2 separate regions of the Homo sapiens genome follow, and region 1 is linked to region 2. Evidence: promoter capture Hi-C in 16 types of primary human blood cells and fetal thymus (Javierre and others, 2016). All regions are on one chromosome and are shown on one strand. The core of a region is centred on a gene start or on the middle of the fragment in contact, and the rest is flanking DNA. Distances in the headings are between cores, read along the strand shown. Region 1 holds the start of KRT6B (keratin 6B). Region 2 has its middle 19 kb from the start of KRT18.

The links. The method cuts DNA at HindIII sites, captures the fragments that hold promoters and counts their contacts. A CHiCAGO score of 5 or more calls a contact.
Region 1: the fragment with the promoter of KRT6B here is called in contact with a fragment that was not itself captured in region 2 in 2 of 17 cell types (M2 macrophages and M0 macrophages); the score reaches 5.8 in M2 macrophages.

The regions. Positions count from the first base shown.
Region 1 is chr12:52,450,738-52,454,481 of GRCh38, forward strand. It overlaps KRT6B (keratin 6B), which reads right to left and starts at 1,409. Exons shown (of 9, transcript NM_005555.4): 1 at 802-1,409. The coding sequence starts at 1,341. The HindIII fragment of the contact is 8,192 bases long and covers 1-2,392 here.
Region 2 is chr12:52,966,273-52,970,260 of GRCh38, forward strand. No RefSeq gene overlaps it. Among named protein-coding and RNA genes, the nearest start is that of KRT18, 19 kb to the left of the region's middle. The HindIII fragment of the contact is 7,174 bases long and covers 1-3,988 here.

The DNA.
Region 1 (3,744 bases), core at 159-2,658, 520 kb before region 2:
AGAGAGGCTCAGGCTGAGCTCTGCTCCCCCAACTCCTTCTCCTTTGCACCCCACCAGTCTCACTAGAGAAATTGTCCCACGGACCACTGAGGTGTTCTCGCACTGTAAGCTATTGATCATCAGTGAGTTTCAACATTTCTTCTTTTCTTTTTCCAAGCACAATCACAAATCTAGTTTAAAAATACTAATTACCTGATATATTGTACACAGTTTTTTTTACCGAGAGGATCTTAGTTAGGAGGGATATTAGATGTTGACTCATGATTACATTTCAGTCTACTTTCCCATTTAGTGTCTCCTCTCAAATATTCTGATGTTATGGTCATTCTCTGTTTTTAAAATTAATTAGCATTTATCCATGTTTTACAGTTGTTTCTATGTCCCTTTTTTTCTTAATCCAGCCAGATTATCTTTTCCTTTTCTTTCTAAATCTTTTTCCTCTTACCCAGACCCCAGAGTGTAATTTACCAGCCCATATACTCCTGGCATTTGCTTTGTAATCTCTTAAACACTTCAGAGGGGAGAATTAACCTACTCCACTCTCTGATGGCCTCATCTGTGCTTCAGGGTTATGAAAAGTTATGGCTCTCCCTAGGCAGGAGTGAGGGCCACTCCAGATATCCCATGGGGGAGTGATGCCCATCTGTGCTGCCTCCTGTGCACCGAGAGCCACCTGCACTCTCTGCAGAGCTGGGCTGAGTCCCCTTCTCCCTCCCTCCTAGGGTCTCTCCGGCAGGAAGGTGTTGCTCTTCTGGTCTGGGGACCCTGAAGTGCCCGATGGAGGGCATGGCACTGGCTCACCTTGTCGATGAAGGAGGCAAACTTGTTGTTGAGGGTCTTGATCTGCTCACGCTCCTCGGCCCGCACCCGCTGGATGGCGGGGTCAATTTGCAGGTTGAGGGGAGTCAGGAGACTCTGGTTGACAGTGACCTCTTGGATGCCTCCAGGGGGGCACACAGGGAAGCCAGGGCCCCCAAAGCCACCAGCAAGGCCGGCTCCACCACCCAGACCAAAGCCAATGCCGGCTCCACCACCGAAACCAAATCCACTCCCGGCGCCACCAAAGCCATAGCTGCCTCCGGCTCTGCTGCCATAGCCGCCACTGATGGCACAGCTGCCCCCTCCAATGGAGATCCTCTTGGAGCCCCCCAGGCCATACAGACTGCGGCTGCCAAAGCCAGCTCCTCCACATGCGCCACCCAGGCCACCACTGCCCCTGGAGCGGGACACGGAGATGCTGCTGAAGCCAGAGCGGCTGACCCCAGGGAGCCTGGCTGAGTTGGCACTGAAACCCCGGCGGCTGCTGCTGTGGCTCCTGATGGTGGTGGATGTGCTGGCCATGGTTCCAGGAGATGAGAGGGCTTAGGAGAGTGTGAGAGGCTGGAGGCGAGAGGGAGGAGAAGCAGGACGAGGAATCGGACTCCAGTAGCAGCTTATATATGGAGAGCATGGGCTGGGCCCAGTCCTGGAAGGTGAGCTTGCAGGTTGGGAAGGGCTGGGCTTTACAAATAGTGAGATCACACCTGCATTATTACAAAAGTTATGAAATACCGAGATTGCATTTTTCGCTTCCTTTAGTCAGGCAAAATGTTCCTGCCTCCAGCTTTGACTTGAGATCTCAGCACAATAAGAGTATTCTCAATTCATGAAGTTGGAATTAGTCACTGTCTTCAGCAAAGGTTCTGCATGCTAGGCTGTTTATCGACATGCCCTGAGTGCCCTCCTCTTCCCAGTCTGACTTTCTTCCAGCCTTGCTGTTGGAGATCACAGGCACTGTATTGTGAATTCCTTAACAGAAATATTACAATTTCCCCATAATTGTTTCACCTTTTAGGTGCAATTTTAAACAGGTAGAGAAGCAGAACACTGCAATGGGCCTGTATATACCTGTCACCTGCTTCCATGATGATCATCTCATGGCCAGCCTGATTTCTTTCATACTTCAACCCTATTTCCTCTTCCATTCTAGATTGTTTGAAAGGAAATTCCAGAAGTCATATTATGTCTTCAATCAATAATTCAATATTAATATCTAAATAATAGGTCCTTTAAAAAATCAAAACACTATTTTTATATCTTAAAAATTTACATACTAATTAAAATGAACAAGTGTCTATTTAGTCTTCAAGCAGTCCTATTTTTGATATATATTTCTTATATTTTGGTGTCCCAATCAGAGTCAAAATAAGCTCTATAAACGTTGTATTTGAGTGATATATCCTTTAAATCATTGAAATTTAAAAATCTCCCTTCATTTCTTACTTTTATTTGTTAAATAAAACAGGTTAACTGTTCATTGTACTTTTTCATTCTTGGGATTTTTCTAATTGCATACCCCTATTGTTTCCTTTAATATGAGACTCTAACCTTCATATTTCATATTAAAATTAGAAGCTTATTAAGATTCTGTCTATATTTAAACATTCTAGAAGTAAATGTAGTAGATTGCCCATTTAAATTTTGAATAGTACTATTTGCACAATTATTTACATGTTTACAAATTGAATACATGATACATGTTTTAAAAAATTTTTTGTAAAACATGCTAAACAACAAAATAATATAGCTCAAGGCCATTCCCCAGTTACCCAATTCCTATCTATGGAGGAAGTAATGTTAGCAGTTCCTTGTGTATCCTTGTATCTTTACTTGGATATTTTCCTGTGCTTTTCCTGGGCCATGGGTGACATGTCTGTGCATATGTGTTTGTGTCAACGTGTGTTTGTATGGGTGAGGAAGAGGTGGAGGGAGTTGGCATATATAGAGAGGGAGCCTGCATTGTAGAAAGGTATATAAATAAATACATGAATGTTTTGTGTGTATGTGTTTGAGTGTGTTTTATGTATATAAAATATTTCATGTATTCATATGTACAAAACATAAAAATATTGTCTTTTTCAATTGTGATTGTGTTGTGTCTGCTTTGTCTCCCACATCTATGTTTTCTGATTCTCTTTTTAACAGTCTCTAGTCTCTTTTTCATAGCTGTTTGCTTTTCCCAGTTATTCGAGGACATTTCTCCCAAATGTCCATTACTGTCTGTTTACCAATGTCTTTCCTCCTTATGCCGCTTTCAATTTGGGCTTCATTTCTTTTTTCTTTTCTTTTTTTTTTTTACACAGAGTCTTGCTCTGTCACCCAGGCTGGAGTGCAATGGCATGATCTCGGCTCACTGCAACCTCCGCCTCCCAGGTTCAAGTGATTCTCATGCCTCAGCCTCCCAAGTAGCTGGGACTACAGGTACCTGCCACCATGCCCGGCTAATTTTTGTATTTTTAGGAGAGATGGGGTTTTAGCATGTTGGCCGGGCTGATCTTGAACTCCTGACCTCGTGATCCACCCGCGTTGGCCTCCCAAAGTGCTGGGATTACAGGCGTGAGCCACCGCACCTGGCCAATTTGACCTTCATTTCTAAGCAGGACTTTGTTGTTATCTCTACCCCTTTTCTGTGCTCCACAAATGAATATTTTATCTTTTACCTGTCTCACTATATTTTGTCTTCTTTTTCCCACTTTATAGTGTTTATTTTTTAGTATTTTATTGTGCCTTTTTCTGTTGAGAGTTTTTATGAGTCTTTTTTTTTTTTTTGCCTATTTTTTTCAATTTTGAATGCACAGACCTTTTCTGAGTCCTGGCATGGTTCCTTTCTGACTAGTGCTTATTTTTAATGAGATGAGCCCCCTCTGGACCTGCGGTTTGTAGAAAGTATTATGGGTGGATGAGCCAGGGCCATATCCAGGCTAA
Region 2 (3,988 bases), core at 1,040-3,539:
AAATAACCAAATTAATTAAATTAAATTTAAAAATTTAAAAAAATTAGCCTGCCTTGGTGGTGCGCACCTGTTATCCCAGCAACTCGGGAGGCTGAGGCAGGAGGACTGCTTGAGACCAGGGGTTGAAAAACAGGCTGGGCAACAAAGTAAGACTCCATCTCTACAAAAAATTTTAAAATTCACCTGGCGTGGTCGCGTGTGCCTTTGGTCCCAGCTACACAAGGGGCCCAGACGGGAGGATTGCCTGAGCCCCAGAGGTTGAGGCTGCAGTGACCCATGTTTGCACCACTGCACTCCAGCCTGGGTGACAGAGTGAGATCTTGTCACAAAGATAAATAAATAAATAAGTAGAATGCAGAGCAATGAAACCCTCATATGTTGCTGGTGGGAATACAAAACGTGTACAACTACTTTGGAAAACAGTTGGGCCGTTTTTTCTAAGTTTAAAAATACACCTCCCAGCGCGGTGGCTCACGCCTGTAATCCCAACACTTTGGGAGGCTGAGGCGGGCGGATCACGAGGTCACGAGTTCAAGACCAGCCTGGCCAATATGGTGAAACCCTGTCTCTACTAAAAATACAAAAAAAAAAAAAAAATAGCCAGGCGTGGTGGCATGCGCCTGTATTCCCAGCTACTTGGGAGGTTGAGGCAGAAGAATTGCTTGAACCTGGGAGGCGGAGTTTGCAGTGAGCTGAAATCTTGCCATTGCACTCCAGCCTTGGGCAACAGAGCAAGACTCTGTCTCAAAAAAAATAGTAATAAAAATAAAAATATACTTACCAGCTCGGTGTGGTGGCTCACACCTCTGATCCCAGCACTTTGGGAGGCCGAGGTGGGTGGATCACCTGAGGTCAAGAGTTCGAGACCAGCCTGACCAACATAGAGAAACCCCGTCTCTACTAAAAATACAAAATTAGCCAGGCGTGGTGGTGCATGCCTGTAATCCTAGCTACTTGGGAGGCTGAGGCAAAAGAATCACCTGAACCCGGGAGGCGGAGGTTGCAGTGAGCCAAGTTTGTGCCATTGCACTCCAGCCTGGGTGACAAGAGTGAAACTCCATTCTCAAAAAAATAAATAAATAAAATAAAATAAATAAACAGATGGTTCAAGTTTGGCCTCTCCCAGTAGGAATCCTCTTTGTGGCCTTCCTAACATCTGGCCTCCGTTTGAAGAATTTATGACAGTATAGCCCCTGTTGGATAATAATTGTATAATTACTGGAACATTATTGTTCCTTCTACTGGGCTGAAATCTGCCTCCTACTAACCTTCTAAACTCAGCTCTGCCCACTAGAGTTACACAGAACTCCCTCTTCCATTAGATTTCAGCCATAAGTGATTATTCTTCCCCTAACCTGTATAAAAGCAGCCCCAGTCACGGTGTAAGGATTTAGCTGCACTGCTGGCCTCAACCTCACCTGCCTGAATGAGCTGGAAAATAATTATCTACACAGAAACAGCCCAAGGAATTAGAATGATAGTGATGCTCAGATCCGGGGAGGCTGTGTCCCCCTGAAGGCCCTGGTCAGATCCTGGTGAAGTGGATGGTGCTGCCACAGGAGGGATGTAGGGTAAACTTCTCAGAGACTCAGGGCACTCCAGTGATCTGGGCCCAAAGCACACAGTTCCTTTTCCTCTCCCCACAATCCACACTGGAGCAGCAGGCTCTAGTGGGCCCCTCCCAGGCTGGCAGAACTTTCCCTATCACCCACTCCCCAGAAGCAAAAAAAGTTTAAAAAGCACCAGCCTAAGGCTGGGTGCAGTGGCTCATGCCTGTAATCCCAGCACTTTGGAAGGCTGAGGCGGGCAGATCACAAGGACAGGAGTTCAAGACGTGCCTGACCAACATGGTAAAACCCCGTCTCTACTAAAAATACAAAAATTAGCCAGGCATGGTGGTGCATGCCTGTAATCCCAGCTACTCGGGAGGCTGAGGCAGGGGAATTGCTTGAACCCGAGAGGCAGAGGTTGCAGTGAGCCAAGATCATGCCATTGCACTCCAGCCTGGGCAATGGAGCAAGACTCCGTCTCAAAAAAAATAAATTATTGTACATTTAAAAATAACTAAAAGAGTATAATTGGATTGTTTGTAACATAAAGGATAAATGCTTGAAGTGATGGATGCCCTGATGAGATTATTATGCATTGTATGCCTGTATCAAAATATCTCGTGTACCCTAAAATAGATACACATACTGGGTACCCACAAAAATTAAAAACTTTTTTTTTTTTGAGACAGAGTTTCACTCTTGTTGCCCAGGCTGGAGTGCACTGGCTCAATCTCGGCTCACTGCAACCTCCGCCTCCCAGGTTCAAGTGATTCTCCTGCCTCAGTCTTCCGAGTAGTTGGGATTACAGGCGCCCACCACCACACCTGGCTAATTTTTTTTTTTTTTTTTTTTTTTTGGATTTGGAGTAGAGACGGGGTTTCGCCATGTTGGCCAGACTGGTCTCGAACTCCTAACCTCAGGTGATCCACCTGCCTCGGCCTCCCAAAGCGCTGGGATTACAGGCATGAGCCACCAGACTCAGCCAAAATTAAAAACTTTAAAAAATAAATTAATAACCACAGCAGTAGCTAGTAGCTAATGGCTACCAGATTGGACAGGACAGTGCAGCACCAGACTGTAAGCTCCCTTTGAGCAGAGACTGGACTATCTTGTTCACTCTTATGCCCTGATACATAACACAATTCCAACACATAAACAGCAGGTTGTTATTTTCTTTTTTAAAGACAAAAATTTGAAATTGTAATTTTTATTAAATTGTAAATAAAATGTTATTTTATTTTATTTAATAACCTATAGCATTTGCCAATATCCAAGGTATAAATACTGCTGTCATGGTTGATTTAAAATGGTTTAATTCTGGGAAGCAAAATTTTCAAATTTAACAATCTTCTCTTACTAGCTTTTGAATGAATAAGCAAATGAATGAACAAATAAATGAGCAAATAACAAACCAAGAGGAGTCTCTGCATGCCTCACCCAAGGAAAAGAGGACAAAGGAGAGTAGAAGAATATTTCAAGATGCCAGCAGTCCTCTCACTCTCTTTGCAGGTCCTCTTTGTTCCAGGAAAGAGAACTTAGTGGGAGAACAATTGAACTTCCTCAGCTTCGCTTCACACACACCCCAGCTTTAAGAAAGCCCAGGAAGAATTTGTTTTTTTTTTTTTTTTTGAGACGGAGTCTTACTCTGTCACCCAGGCTGGAGTGTAGTGGCGTGGTCTCGGCTTCTCAGCTCACTGCAACCTCCACCTCCCAGATTCAAGCGATTCTCCCGCCTCAGCCTCTCCAGTAGCTGGGATTACAGGTGTGCACCACCACGCCCAGCTAATTTTCGTATTTTTAGTAGAGACAAGGATTTCACCACGTTGGCCAAGCTGGTCTCAAACGCCTGACCTCAAATGATCCACCTACCTCGGCCTCCCAAAGTTCTGGGATTACAGACATGAGCCACCTCACCTAGCCTTTGGATTACAGACATGAGCCACCTCGCCTAGCCTTTTTTTCTTTTTAAGGAAAAAAAGAAAAATAAAATCTCATCTTAATCTGCTCCATTTTTTTTTCTTTTTAAAGAAACTTTCCCAAGTCACTTAAACAGTCTTCGTAATGGGAAGGCACTCAAACTATAAATCTCCCTGTCATTTAGGAATGCTCAGTGCAAATGTTTATAGAACCCGGGCACCACTTTCAACCTCTCCTTTGAAGAAGGGCTTTGTAATCCTCCTCTGGGGTCACTCCTACATTCCAAAAATGTTCAGGAAAGGAAGGGAAGGTGCCCACCAGTGGGACAGCTTAGACCCAGGTCCCCACCCTCAGGTTCGGCCCTAAGAACATAAAGATACAAGAAAGGTCACGAGGTTAATTCAAAGCCAAGGAATGTCATGGCAGTAAATGCTGCAGGTGTTCACGGGGAGGATGATGGCCATGATTTGTGGCAGAAGTGAAACCTGAGAGATGCTAAGACTTGTGCAGTGGGAAAGGTG